Regions from separate parts of the Homo sapiens genome. Here regions 1 and 3 are each linked to region 2. The links are contacts of gene promoters, found by promoter capture Hi-C in blood cells and fetal thymus (Javierre and others, 2016). All regions are on one chromosome and are shown on one strand. Each heading gives the region's core, a stretch centred on a gene start or on the middle of the fragment in contact. The rest is flanking DNA. Distances are from core to core; before and after follow the strand shown.

What was found. Contacts are between HindIII fragments. The CHiCAGO score rates a contact against its expected background, and 5 or more counts as called.
Region 1: a contact is called between a fragment that was not itself captured here and the fragment with the promoter of RWDD2B in region 2, in 1 of 17 cell types (M1 macrophages). The highest score is 5.2, in M1 macrophages.
Region 3: a fragment that was not itself captured here is called in contact with the fragment with the promoter of RWDD2B in region 2 in 1 of 17 cell types (monocytes); the score reaches 5.5 in monocytes.

Annotation. Positions count from the first base shown.
Region 1 is chr21:28,135,594-28,140,742 of GRCh38, reverse strand. LINC01697 (long intergenic non-protein coding RNA 1697) reads right to left here. Exons shown (of 5, transcript NR_126010.1): 4 at 5,035-5,149; 5 at 3,134-4,053. All of the region lies in intron 5 of LINC01695 (long intergenic non-protein coding RNA 1695), which reads left to right. Among named protein-coding and RNA genes, the nearest start is that of LINC01697, 90 kb to the right of the region's middle. The HindIII fragment of the contact is 2,180 bases long and covers 1,318-3,497 here.
Region 2 is chr21:29,017,835-29,022,795 of GRCh38, reverse strand. RWDD2B (RWD domain containing 2B) reads left to right here and starts at 3,447. Exons shown (of 5, transcript NM_016940.3): 1 at 3,447-3,585. The coding sequence starts at 3,519. LOC124905005 (a long non-coding RNA gene) reads right to left here. Exons shown (of 2, transcript XR_007067836.1): 1 at 4,549-4,961; 2 at 1,468-3,883. RefSeq lists an enhancer at 3,357-3,606. The HindIII fragment of the contact is 4,408 bases long and covers 85-4,492 here.
Region 3 is chr21:29,638,232-29,642,706 of GRCh38, reverse strand. All of the region lies in intron 7 of GRIK1 (glutamate ionotropic receptor kainate type subunit 1), which reads left to right. Among named protein-coding and RNA genes, the nearest start is that of GRIK1-AS3, 17 kb to the left of the region's middle. RefSeq lists an enhancer at 2,796-2,875. The HindIII fragment of the contact is 309 bases long and covers 2,737-3,045 here.

The sequences.
Region 1 (5,149 bases), core at 1,158-3,657, 880 kb after region 2:
TATCTATATGACTGAGATATATGTATATATACATTACTGAAACAAAGTTTTCATGGGCAATAATTTTTACATGCATTTGTTTTCTATTGCTGCCATTGAAGTTACCAAAATATTAGTCGTATAAAACTACAATAATTTATTACCTTGTTGTTCTATAGGTCAGAAGTCTGACAAAAGTTTCACTGAGCTAAAATCAAGGTATTAGTGGGATTGCATTTCTCTTCAGAAGATCTAGGGGAAAATCTCTTTCCTGCCTTTTCCAGCTGCTAGAAACCAACCACATTTCCTGGTTTGTGGCCCCTTCCATCTTTAAAGCAACCAATGGCGAATAGAGTTCTTCCCACACACCAGGCTTCCCTGGTTCACTGACAACAGGGAAGCCTGGAAAGGTTTTCTGCTTATTAGGACTGCTGTGATGAGATTGGGACCACCTTGACAATAATCTACTCATATCAAATTATTTAATCGTAATCACGCCTGCCATATATGTTAACCTATGTATAGGTTCTGGGAACTAGGACATGTACATCACTGGGGGATTTTTATGCTGGGTAGGACATTCCACTTTCTAAACTCTAAAGATTTAAGACTATCTCACCTACAAAATTCATTAACCGAAACCAAGTTCCGCAGAATTCTGGACTCACTACGGCACCAACTCAGCATCCAAAATGTCACCTCACCCACTCAAAAGCTTCAAATCACATAACCTAAATTATTTAATTTATGCATGAGGAAAGCTCTGGTATAATCCATTCTGAGGTACAATTTCTCTTTATTGTGAATCTTTGAAAGTGAAAACATAAGTTACCTGTTTCTGAAATATGATGGTAGGGCAGGCATAGGATAATAGTTACAGACAGTCCTGTTTTCAAGAGGGAGAAAATCCTAGGTAAAAAAACAATCACTTGTCCCAAGCCATTTCTAGATTCTGCTAGAGAAATTAGGTTCCTAGATCCAAGACTAATACGATGTTGCTTTTAGCTTTTCCTTCTAAACCTGTGGCTTCCTCCTCTGAGTCCTTTCATGTATATGAAAAGTGGCAGATCTTTGCAACTGAGTAGCTGTGTAAGCTTCTTTCCTGCCAGAATTTTGGAGGTTTAATAGTCTTCTTTAATTTCGTATTTTCTCTGTTCCTTTCAATACAGACTGACAGTGTTTCTCCTGATATAAAATTCTCAAGAACCAAGTGGGTCTCCCATGTATGCCACAGGGGTTCACTCCATAATATGAGACTCTTTCAGAGATCTTTCTTAGATAATCAGTCTTCTATTTTTGCCTTCTGCTGAGATATGTGAGGGACAGTAACCTTAAGCTTCCTCGATGCTCTTTGGTTTGATTGAGGAAATCTAATCTCTTCAAAGAGCCCTTTATATTTGAGTACTTTTGATCTTTTTGAGGCATTAGCAAATTGCTGAGGTATAAAAACAGAAGGTTACTACAGCCGTGTCCTAGGCTTTTTCTTTAGATTATCTATCCCTGTTACTGAGTTTCTTTATTTTAATATCTTTTGCAGTCTGAATAAACTGAGAATTTCCAAAATCATTATGTCTTGGTTTCTTTTTGTTTAAACGGTTCTTTTCTCAAATTATCTCTTTCTCATTGCATTTTGCTATGAGAAGAAACAAGAAGCCAGGCGGCTTCTTCAACCCTTTGCTTGGAAATATCCTTACTTACGTATTCAATTTCATCATTTACAAGTTCTATTTTTCACCTGAACGTAGGACAACTTTGCTAAGTTTCTACCGCTATATAATATGGAAATTCTTTCTTCAAATTTTTAATGTGTTTTTTATTTCCTTCTAAGCCTTCACCAATAGTACTTTTTATGTCCCTATTTTTACTAAGTCTGTTCATGCTGATTCATGTATGCTCTAACGCAGTCTATGCCTTCTCTACCATGCTCTTCTCTTCACTTTCTTCTAAGTCCTTTCTAGCAGAATCATTAACAACCACATTTCTACTAACAATGTGTTCAAAACAATGTAAGTTTTTCTCGGATGACCTTCAACATTCTCTTAGCCTCACTCACTGCCGAATTCCAAAGCCACTTTGACATTTTATAGATATTTGTTACAGCAGTATATAACTCTCAGACATCAAAATTTGTATGAGTTTCCTAATGTCGCCATAACAAATTACCACACATGCATGCAGTGACTTTAAAAACACAAGCAGCTGGCAATACACTCTTCCTAGCAATGCTTCCTAAACAGAATGGACAGTATTCCCTCAAGTTTCAGCTGAAGTCCACCTGCTCCAAGGGACAGAAGCAACAGTGATTTTCTCTTCTGTCCACATTATGCTCATTAACTGCATGACTCAGTGCTATTTACCATGGGTTCTGCTGTATCGCTAGTTATTTATCTTCATAATATGTGAAGTTATCTAAAGAATACAATTAGATAGTTGAGGACAGGAACTTCTGGCATTCCTAGAATTTATGAGTGTTTTTATATGGTAGCCAGTCTGAATCCATTTGTGATGATGATGAAAAACACAACAGATAGCTGGATAGTTAATGTAGGAAACTTTGCTTTATGAAATAAAATTTTGAGAAAGCTAAATATATTTTCCTAACATTGAATCGCTTACGTGTGTTTTATGTAACAACTTATTAATCTCTAATTTTTAATAAGTACAGCTATTATTTATAAAATATTTTAGCTTATAAATAATTTTAACACACTATATCATTTGATCTCAAACATGTAAAAATACTTATTACACAAAGGAGGAACATAGAGTTACCACTTGATTTCAGTTGTGTTTGCTGACTGACGTAGGGTCAAAGAATACATTAGTAGCACTACTGAAACATAACTCTATGGTATATGATTCTAAAACCTGTGTTTTTCCCACTATGCTATATGTACATTCTTATTTCATGAATTTAGACTACATTTAATAACTGACACACGTACTATTTGTTCAACAACAGTTAAGTTCTTAAGAAGTAATGATGGTGCAAAAAGAAAATTTTAATCTTGCCTAATTCTTAATGTAATCAGTAAAAATATAATAATATTGTATCTGACAGAGAGGGCAATTATTCAAATTTTAAAAGACATTCACATCATGAGTAGTTGAGATAAATAACTATCCTGAAAAACCACTGACCATAATGAGTTATTGTTAGCAAGATTTATATTGTACTTTTGAAGTTCTTCTAGAGGCACACAATCAACCATAGGTTTTATCTAACAATAGTAAAAGTAATCCCAAAACATAAAAAGTAGTTGCTGTATTGAAAAGTATATTATAGGACAATAATTAAATGGATGATAAGGAAACCTTGTTACAGGTGATTCACACCACTTCAAAAACAGCAAAAGAAAAAATTGATATTAACATGTACCAATTATAATGCATTATTATGAAATATTTAAAATGGGGAATCCAAGATGACATAGTTTTTAACTCATCCACATACTGGAAGTTTAGAGAAACTCAGAATTTCTTATTTCTTTTTCTTTTTCCTCCATAGCATAAAAGCTTTGCTAATAAGAATAAATATATATATTGGAGTTTTAGTGTTTGATCCTGTGATCAGTTGTAACCGTGTGTCATAAAACTCTCTCACAGATTCCATCTTTCCCAAATCTTCTGATCATAACACAGATTGCCATATAGACTTCCCTTGTAAGAGAATATGCTGGCCATAAGGCAGCAAAGTGAACTTGCAGTTTCACTTCTTGTAAATTAATGCATTTGCATTGACTTCTATAAAATAATCTCTCCTGAATTTTTTTGCTTAGTCAACTTACTGTGTGCAAGCAACAGAAATTGTCTCTGGTTAACTTTTACAGCACAATTAAAAATTGTATGAAGAAGCATACAAAATTTGTATGAGGCTGAATCAGCCTCATTAAATGGTCAGTGATTAAGGGAATTTATGTAGGACACTTCTTTTGGATTCTTGCTGGCACCACAGGACTGTCGATGCTGTCAGCACTGCTGTGCTGTGCTGTGAATAATTCTTCGTTGCTCATGTTCTCTGTGTTCCCCATTCCAGATTCAAAGTCTTAGGCAGGAACATCTTATTGGCCAAGTCTGTTGGGAGGTAATGGGAGTAAATATCTCAGAAAGAGAAAGTTCGTTTGGATGCTGAGTGGCCAAAAAATGACAATTTTCCATGAAAGTAAGGTCGATCTGACGTAAAGTGGTAACAATCATCAAGTGTCTGGATTTAAAAGGTTGAGGACCAAACATTTTTCTTTCATTTTTTATTTCCATCAAATGACAAGTTCCCAGTGATGGGAGGGATCTTAAATATCATATAGTCTGATACTTCTCCAAGCCTCGATTGGGCAAGAAAAGGGTAGTAACAACAAATGATTTCCCTTTGATAGTCTATTTTATCTATTTATTTTAGGTGAGGGGATGATTCCATTTTGAAAAAAAATTTCTTATGTTAAACTTTTGTTCTTTAATATTACTTTTACCTCTCAGAGCTACAGAGGAAATAGATCCAATTACTCTAAACCTAATCATCCTTTTGAATAAAACTTATGCATGGCTTTCGTATCATTTGTGCAAGTAATAAATCCCAATTTACATAATGTTTTTCCTATGACATGATTTTGACTCCGTATTTCTGCTTCTGCCATTCCTGTATTGCCTTTTTCACACACACACACACACACACACACCCCACCACCACCACCACTACCACCAGCACACACACAACACATGTGCATGCATACCAACATTTGCAATACTAAGATGTGAAAATACCAACTGGAAAAGGTTTGACACGTACACAGTGTGGAAGGGCTAGCACTTTACATTTCTTTTTTTTTTTTTTTTTTGAGCTCTGTCACCCAGGCTGGAGGGCAGTGGTTGGTTTCAGTTCACTGCAGCCTCTGCCACCCAGGCTTAAGCAATCTTCCCACCTCACCCTCCTGAGCAACTGGGACTACAGTCACATGCCACCATGCTTGGCTAATGTATTAGTCAGGATTTTCTAGAGGGACAGAACTAATACAATATGTGTATATATGAAAGGGAGTTTATTAAGGAAAATTGACTCACATGATCATAAAGTCAAGTCCCGTGAGAAGCCATCTGCAAGTTGAGGAGCAAGGAAGCCAGTGGTGGATCAGTCTGAGTCCCAAAACCTCAAAATTAGAGAAGCTGACAGTGTAGC
Region 2 (4,961 bases), core at 2,198-4,697:
ATATCCACGGATGTGTGGTAGGGCATAGGCTCCAGCTCTCATGCAAAAAAGAACAGGAGTGGGATGAGATAATTTTTTAAAGCTTTCTTCTCCAAGCTCCAGAAATGCAGGCTTTTTGCCCCCACGCATTTTAAAACAGAGCCTTAGGGTCATTGTACCACGTGCTTCCTGTCAGAAAGCCTCTTCCCCCTGATCTTCCGGGGTTGGTATCTTATTGTCATTCTGTTCACACCTTATTTTTAATTTATTTATTTTAGAGACAGGGTCTGGCTTTGTAGCCCAGGCTGAAGTGCAGTCATAGTTCACTGTAACCTTGAATTCCTGTGCTCAAGTGATCCTCATGCCTCAGCCTCGCGTAGCTGGTACTGCAAGTGTGTGCCACCTCATCAGCTAACTTTTTTTTTTTTTTTTTGAAGTCACCGTGTCTCTACAAAAGCCTGCTGCCCAGGCTGGTCTCAAACTCCTGACCTCAAGCGATACTCCAGCCTCAGCCTCCCAAAGCACTAGGATTCCAGGTGTGAGTCACCACACCCAGCTTCTATACATGCCTTAAAAGTCACTTCCTTCCAGTTACAGGGCAATCTAAGTAACACAGTCATCTGATCACTCACATCACCTTACTTTACTTCTCTGCCCAGCAGTTTATCCACTATCTGGTAATTTTCTTTCTTTTTTTTTTTTTTTTGAGACAGAGTCTCACTCTGTTGCCCAGGCTGGAGTGCAGTGGTGCAGTTACAGCTCACTGCAGCCTCAACTTCCCAGGCTCAGGCAATTCTCCTACCTCAGCCTCCTGAGTAGCTGGGACTACAGGCCTACAGGCACACGCCCCCACACCTGGCTAATTTTTGTGTTTTTTGTAGAGTTAGGGGTCTCTGTTGCCCAAGCTGGTCTCAAACCCTGGGCTCAAGTGATCCTCCTTGGTCTCCCAAAGTGCTGGGATTATAGGCATGAGCTATCATACCCAGCCATAATTTTTTTTTTTTTTCTTTTTTTTGAGACGCAGTTTTGCTCTTGTTGCCCAGACTGGAGTGCAATGGCGTGATCTCGGCTCACCACAACCTCCGCCTCCCAGGTTCAAGCAATTCTCCTGCCTCAGCCTCCCCAGTAGCTAGGATTACAGGCATGCACCACCATGTCCAGCTAATTTTTGTATTTTTAGTAGAGACGGGGTTTCTTCATGTTGGTCAGGCTGGTTTTGAATTCCCAACCTCAGGTAATCTGCCCGCCTTGGCCTCCCAAAGTGCTGGGATTACAGGCATGAGCCACTGTGCCCGGCCCATAATTTTCTTTTATTTTTACCTTTATGTTTAGCCCTCTTCATACATACACAGAAATGTGCAAATATAAGCTCTTTGAGAGATGCGACATCTTTGTCTTGTTCATGGCTATAATTAGTACCTGGAAATGCCTGGAATATAGTAAGTGCTCGATAAATATTTATTGAAAAGAAAGTCATGAGCAATAAAATGCTATATAAGAACGTTCACAGCAGCTTTATTTATAATAGCCAAAAAACTGAAGACAGCCCAGGTTTCTATCAAAACAAGAATGGAACTGGTATATTCATATGATGGAATACTACTGAGCAATCAAAAGAAAGTGATACACATGATATCAGATGAAAATATTACCCTGAGTGAAAGAACCCTTACACAAAAATATCTATTGCATGACTCCAACCATATGACGTTCTATAACAAGAAAAATAAGTATGGTGGGGGAAAAAATCAGAACAGTGGTTACCTTTGGGGAGAACTGGTTGGGAACTAAGAAAGGGCATGAAAGAACTTTCTAGGGTGATGGTAACGTTCTATATGTTAATATGGCTTGAGTTCCATAGGCGTGTGCATTTAAAAACTGATGTGTATTTAAGGTATGCATTTCATTTTTACCTTAAAAAATCCTTAATTTGAACTCCAATGATGTGCATTAGAGGTACTTAGAAGCGTACTGTCTGCAGTTTACTTTTAAATGTATGAAAACAGATAGATTGATGAGGTATGTGACAAAGCTGGTAGAGTAAAATTCTGTACTCTCCAGGTCAGTGTTTTTCAACCTCAACACTATCAACATTTTGGACCAGCAAATTTGTTGTTGTCGGGGGATGTCCTGTTCATTGTAGGAAGTTGAGGAACATCCCTGTGCTCTACCTACCCCATGCCAATACCATCCTTCCAGTTGTGACAACCCAAAATGTCTTCAGACACTGCTAAATAGAGGGGAAATCCATCCTTCCCCTTCTCTTGAGGTCTGCTCCACTGTAAAATTCTCTCGACTTCGCTTTACACTTGAATTTTTTCATAATAAATGTTGGAGGAAAAAATAAATTATGACATTGAAAAACGCTCATGAAACACTATGCAGAAGACGTAGTTTATGAAGACCTACAATACATACTGTCGTATTTTTGTTTAAAAAAAAAAAGTGGAGGGGAGACCTAGCAGTGATATTTAGTATTGCTAAATGTCAATGTTTACAAATCTTATCTATGACATTTCTAAAATGAATATTATAAAGTGTATTGCATATAGTTGGATTGGGAAGAAAAACATTTCTAATTATTCTCCTGTCAGCATCTCCTTCAAACTACCCTTTTATTAACAGGGATAGATATGCATTCACACGGTTCCTCCCAGCTTGGTTAATGGGCAAGAACACCTAAGATAGCCAAGGCCACCATGCATCCAGGCTCACATCTCCCTAATTGCCCTCCTCCATGATTCAGGGACAAGGAGGATCACCATCGTGTGGGAAGATACTAGAAATGTAGAATTTGGAACCCCACCCCTACCTACGGAATCCTGATCTGCACTTCAACAGGATCCCCGAACTATTCCTAGGCGCGTTCGAATTTGAGGAACATTAACGGACCAATTCTTTGTCCCTGAAAAGTGCCCGTTATAGAGGCGGCCGCTGGGAAATGACAACGGGGTTGGCATGGAGAGGTATTAAGTAGAAAAACTCCGGCCGGGCACGGTGGCTCAGGCCTGTAATCCCAGCACTGTGGGAGGCCGAGGCCGGTGGATCACCTGAGGTCAGGAGTTCGAGACCAGCCTGGCCAACATGGTGAAACCCCATTTCTACTGAAAAATACAAAAATTATCTGGGCATGGTGGTGGGCGCCTGTAATCCCAGCTACTCGGGAGGCTGAGGCAGGAGAATCGCTTGAACCCAGGAGGCGGAGGCTGCAGTGAGCCGAGATCGCGCCACTGCACTCCAGCTTGAGAGACACAGCGAGACTCCGTCTCAAAAAAAAAAAAAAGGAAGAAAGAAAGAAGAAGAAGAGAACTCTGCGACTGAAAAGTACCTAGCAGGGACAACGCATTCCCTACGTCCTTCCAAGTGCAGACACCAACACCGGCGGACGCGGCTCCCAACAGGCGAGCCCCAGCTTCCGGTCCGCGGCCTTGGACGCGCATGCGCCGCATGCTTTTTTTTTTTTTTTCCGGTAGGTCGCCAGCTGAGGCGGTTTGTAAGTTTTGGGTCGCAGTATGCTAGAATTTTGAGGCTCCCTTCTGATGAAAATTGAGCTGTCCATGCAGCCATGGAACCCGGGTTACAGCAGTGAGGGGGCCACGGCTCAAGGTGAGTCTCGCCTCAGCTAGCGCCAGTGGTGACCGCCACGGGGGTTTCCCACGCTGCAGCGCCCAGTGCAACCCTTTGGGAACGTGCCCGGCATGGCGGCCCCGGTTCCCCTCACTGCATGCGCCCATCGGTCGGCTCGGTCCTCGGCGTTGCTTCCCGGCTTCTGCAGCCCTGCTCCAGCCGGGGACCTCGCCCCGGGGGCAATCAGGGTGCGAGGGCGGCTGCGTGCTGGGCTTTCTTCCTGAGAGCGTCTTGGCTTGGGTCGCGGGGTACCCTGCTCTGTTCTTCAAAAAAAAATCTGCAAGGAAAAGATATTATTCCACTCAGAAATCTCAAGTTTCAGTCTGCGTTCTCTTAAATATATTTTATTTTTTAAAAAAATAATAAAGGCGAGCTCTTACTATGTTACCCAGGCTGATCTTGAACTCCTGGGCTCAAGCAGTCCCCCTTCCTCTGCCTCCCAAAGTGCTGGGATTACAGGCGTGAGCAATCGCGCCCGGCCACAGTCTATTATCTTACAGCATTCGCTGAAATCTTGAATCATAAAATTATCTTGAGGGTTTTTTGGAAGGACTGAAATCTCTTAAGCGAAAATAATTTGGCAGATAAATGACCTGTGACATCACTCCCGTAGTTGTCCGTTCAAGAGTCCCTCCGTCCCGTTCTTCTTTGCTAATCCCATTTCATCTTCGATACCTCCAATTCAATAGCACCCTCTCCCAACTTTACTCACTCCCTGGGAGACTTTAAACAAATATATAGTTCCAAATAAGTGTTGACTCCCAAGATTATATATCTAGCTGAGTCTCTCGTAGACTTCAAAACTATACATCTAACTGCCTGCTAGACCTCTCTATTTAACAGGTGTCTTAGTAGGCACTTCATTACTTGTGTCTAAAACCAAGCTTCAGCTCCCCATGACCATCAACGTCTAAATAAATGGCAGATCCATACTTTCAGTACCTTAAAGCCCCGGAGTCATTCTTCCGTGTCTCATGTAATTCATCTGTAAATCCTGTTGCCTCTGTTCTCTGCATGTATCCAGAACCTGAAGCTCACCAACTTGACCACTATAATCCTATCAAAGCCACCATCATCTCTCCCTAGTTATTGCGGTGTCTATATCTGGTCACCCCACTTTTCCTTTCACTTTTCTCCATAGCAGCAAGTGTGGGGATCTTCATAAGTCAAACCTCTCTTGTAGCTCTTACATGTCAGTCGGGATAAAATTCAAAATTCTGGCCATGCTTTACTAGTCCCAACATAAACTGCCCCACATTTCCTTACTAAACTCTTCTATTCCCCGTGTCCTCAGCTCACTGTGCTCTGGCCAGCTGTTCTAGCACCCTCCTTCCTCAAGGCCTTTGAATATGCTG
Region 3 (4,475 bases), core at 1,642-4,141, 620 kb before region 2:
CATCAACCAGTCTGCTCAGATTTCAGTGTCAAAAGTTTGTCCAGAAGGACTAGCAGGAATTTTCCATTGTGATGCTGAGAAGTTCAGTGACGCTACCAGATACCAACACTTACTCTCCTTCATGCCAGCCATGGCCATAGCTCCTGCTGGCTCTCCACACATGTCCATAAGGGCATATGGGTGTTTCTTCCATGTCCCACTGAGTCAAGGGGAGAGTTGATCCATTACTGAAGGGTACCAGAGATAGTTCCAGCATTATCAGTCCACAATCCCAGTGGCCTCCTAAAGCTCAGGCTGTACAGGACTGAGTGGAAGGACCTCTTTAATTATATAGTGACTATTTTGTCATTTATCAGCTAACTGGAAAAGTTTATTCCCATTCAAAACCTACTGAGCACATAAAAGATTTTTGAGAGTATGGGGTATTTGCAGGGATAGATATCTTCACTGATGTCCTGGGATCCTGGACTGTCCTCCACCTTTTCTTTTCTCTGAGGCAGTTTGACTCCTTGTCACAAGGCCCTGTTCTAAGCCCCGTGACTCCTTATCGATATGTACACTGCATGATCATCCATTCCACCACGAACCTCAGGGTGTGTCTGGACTTGATGATAAGAAATAAGGCTCTTTGGAGTAGCTAGGCCTGAGTATGCGCAATGCTCTGAGATGCTATTCTAATATTTCTCTATGGGATACAGACATTTAGTTCTCAAGTGAAGAGTATTTTTTTCCTTTCTGTACTGGAGAAGGATGGAAATATAGTGTAAAGAAGAGGGAGGGCACAGGAGAATACCCAGCTAAGAGTAAGGAAAGACACCTGCTTTGGACTCGTGTCTCTGCTGGTCTCTTCCATGCCTGCACACCCTCTCTCAGTCTGTTCAATGCAACTAAAGGCTGACTCTGATCCATGAGGGTGAGGATAAAGCAGGCGGGATGTATAAGGATTAAGTACCTAGGCTACAAATCTAGGTTGCTTGCAAGCCCAGGATGAGGGTGCAATTTAAGGAAACATTCATTCTTGGGTGAGTATTCTATACTTGCACAAGATTAAGAGGAAATTCTCGCTTAAATTTTGTACCCTGAGCACCTCTCTTACTTTATCCTAGTCCTGGCAGTGACTGCATGGGTTTAAATCTTAGTTCCACTAACACTGATGAGCAATATAACCTGGGCAAGTCTATTGGTCCATTTTCATGCTGCTGATAAAGACATACCTGAGACTGGGTAATTTATAAAGAAAAAGAGGTTTAATGGACTCACAGTTCCACGTGGCTGAGGAGGCCTCACAATCATGGCGGAAAGTGAAAGGCATGTCTACATGGTGGCAGGCAAGAGAAAACTTGTGCAGGGAAAATCCCATTTATAAAACCATCAGATTTCATGAGACTTATTCGCTATCACGAGAACAGCATGGGAAGACTTGCCTCCATGATTCAATTACCTGCTACTGGGTCCCTCCCACAACACATGGGAATTGTGGGAGCTACAATTCGAGATGAGATTTGGGTGGGGACACACCAAAACCATATCAGCAAGTTACTTACACTTCTTGTCTCTCAGTTTTCTTATCTATAAGATGGGTATAGTATCATCTACCCCACAGCATGACTGTAAGGATAAAGAATTAGGCAAATGCTTGTGAAGAATAGTTCAGAAACCTAGTAAGCATCTGAAATACTATTCTCTTGCCATTGGAAGGCACCACTAAGAATAGCCTCATTCAGTTTACTGAAGATGATACCAGGAATTTCAAACTGGCAACAACAACAACAACAACAAAGACATCACAAATAGGCATGAAACAAAATACCTTTTCTGACAGCTACATAACTCTGACACACTGTGCCTAATAGAAAAACATCACACCACCTCCTTTTCCCTGCAGTGATCATGGTTGTGTCCTGAATCGCCATCCTGATTACCTTGATCTTTAACAAGAAAACAGCTGGTTTTCTTTTATCTCCTAGAAGTTCAAGGAGAGGCAGAAGTGACATGAAAGCTTGGGATCAAACACTCAAGAGCCCCCAAGACACCTTATCACTTGTACTTAAGTCGCATAAGAAGGTGAAATTACCAAGCCACATTTAGGCATATTTAAAGAAATAATGAGCTCCAAGATGAGGGACCACACTGAAAATAAGAAGGCATTTTATATTCATTCACTCCAAAGAAGCAAATCTCTCATTTTTAATCTCCACAGTTAGGGGTTACAGGAAGGGAGGGGGGAATGAATCAGAAACCATTGTCAACATTGTGCTCATCCTCTTTTGTCTCCTGAGTCAGGATGTCATATGCTACCTTTGGCAGGGTGTAGGTACCTACAGAGAAGATGGAATGGGGTAACCAGAAGCAATGCCTCAGCCTGCTGGAGGACTGGCACTGAGGAAATTCTGAGACAACCTAAAACATGCAAAAGAGAAAGTGCACGTGTTTTTTCAGATGAGTGCATAACTGAACAAAATTTTGCAAGTATCAGGTTTCATTAGGAAACATGAAATAAGGAACTTGGTCCCCAAATTTCCCCCGCTGCTTCTTTTTTTTTTTTAAGTTATTCTCACTTTGTAAAGAAGTTCCAAAACTAGAGTCAGAAAAAAAAAAATGAAAAGAAGCAAGTCAGCAGATTGAATTTATGGGGTGAAGACCAAATTCATCACAGGAGGTAAACTTCCTGAGCAGAGGTTGTTGCATGTGCGGTAATTTCTGATAACTCCACACACTGTTGGGAATCAGTAAGCTTTTCAGACACATGTTTCCAGCTCACTGCCTTTCAGTGTATGGGGCTGACTAGATAAAGGGGAAGAGTTAAAGAACATATGAAACATGATAGAGTATGTTACTATGTTAGCTCTCCGAGCATTTGCTAAACAAATGCATGCTAGGAGATTATACATTCCCACTCAACAAGCATTACTGGAACTCCACTACATAAGTAATATTAACTTGGCATCTTAAGGGATAACACCCTTGAAAAGTAGAAGAGGTGGCTTCTGCCACCTAGTAATGTAAATTCTACATGGCAGAGGATTGACACGCTTCATTAAAGCTTTTTCTTATACCTCAGGATAAAACATACACTCTTCAGCAGGATATACAGGCTCATGATCTTGTTCCTGATCCCTTTGCCAGCTCTCTCATCTCCTGCTCCATCTGCAGCACCTGCTGAACCTACTGTGGCTCCCTTGAATATGCAATATGCTCCTACCAAATTATTTTAACTCTGATTGCAATGCCGTGCTCCTCTGGGTCATGCTTTACGTCTCAACTCAAGCACTAGCTCCTATCTGCAGGACCCTGACTCACAGATGTAGGCTTTGTACCTCCATTACAACTGTGGGTATGCTATTGTGTTTGTTTCCACGTCTATCTCCAAGCTATGCGTTTTCAGTCTCAATTCCCTAGTTCTTGCACAATGCTGGACATAGAATAAGCACCCAATAAATACATGCCAAACAAGTGAATGAATTGATGAATGAATTAATGAATGAATTAGCAAAGGAACCGAAGAACACACACAATCTATAAGCATGTGCAGTGCTTCAGGACACACTGTGTTCATAAAAATCATATCCAGAAACAATTCAATAAGACAGAGTCAGGAGCTGGACTAGACCTGTCCACCAGGGCCATAGGTTTCGATAGGAGAGTGAGGCAGGGATTTAGGGAAAGACCAACCTATTTAACTCTGGTGCTGGGAACACAGATTCTGAGATTTCATCACACTTTGCTGTCAGTGTGAACTTAGTCAAGTCATTTAGCTTGTTTCTCAGTTCCTCCTTCTATAACATGGGTAATAAAATGCCCACACCATAAGTTTGTAGGGATTACATATTTTATATGTATAGCCTAGCAAAATATTTGTCATGTAGTGATTGTTTAATGAAGGATAGCTACCATCAAATGAAAGGTTCTGTTAAAAAATGAAAAACAGTTTTCCATTTTCAAGAAAAGGAAGTCTATTGGAGTAAGATTGCAGTTAGATTAACACCTTTTCTTGAAATGAACTTACAGAAAAAATGTACATGTATAATTCAGTCCACTGTATCCTCCTTTGAACTAGTTTTACCTGCTTGTTTTCTCATGCATAAATATTTATGTTTCTTTGACATATTTATGTGAGGATTATGTTTTTAATATTCTAACATCACAAAGTAGCCTTTTGTTTCTGTATTGCACTTTACGGGTAATTGTTATTTTGCCACCTCTTTGTACAACTGATATGGTTTGGCTTTGTGTCCCCACTCAAATCTCATCTCGAATTCATATCCTCACGTGTGGAGTGGGGTACCCATAATCTCCAAGTGTTGAAGGAGGGAGGTGATTGGATCATGGGGGCGTTTCCCCCATGCTGTTCTTGTGATAGTGACTGAGTTCTCAAGAGATCTGACGGTTTTAGAAGGGGCTCTTCCCCTTTCGCTTTCTCCTCTCTCTCCTGCTGCCATGTAAGACATACCTACTTCCCCTTCCGCCATGATTGT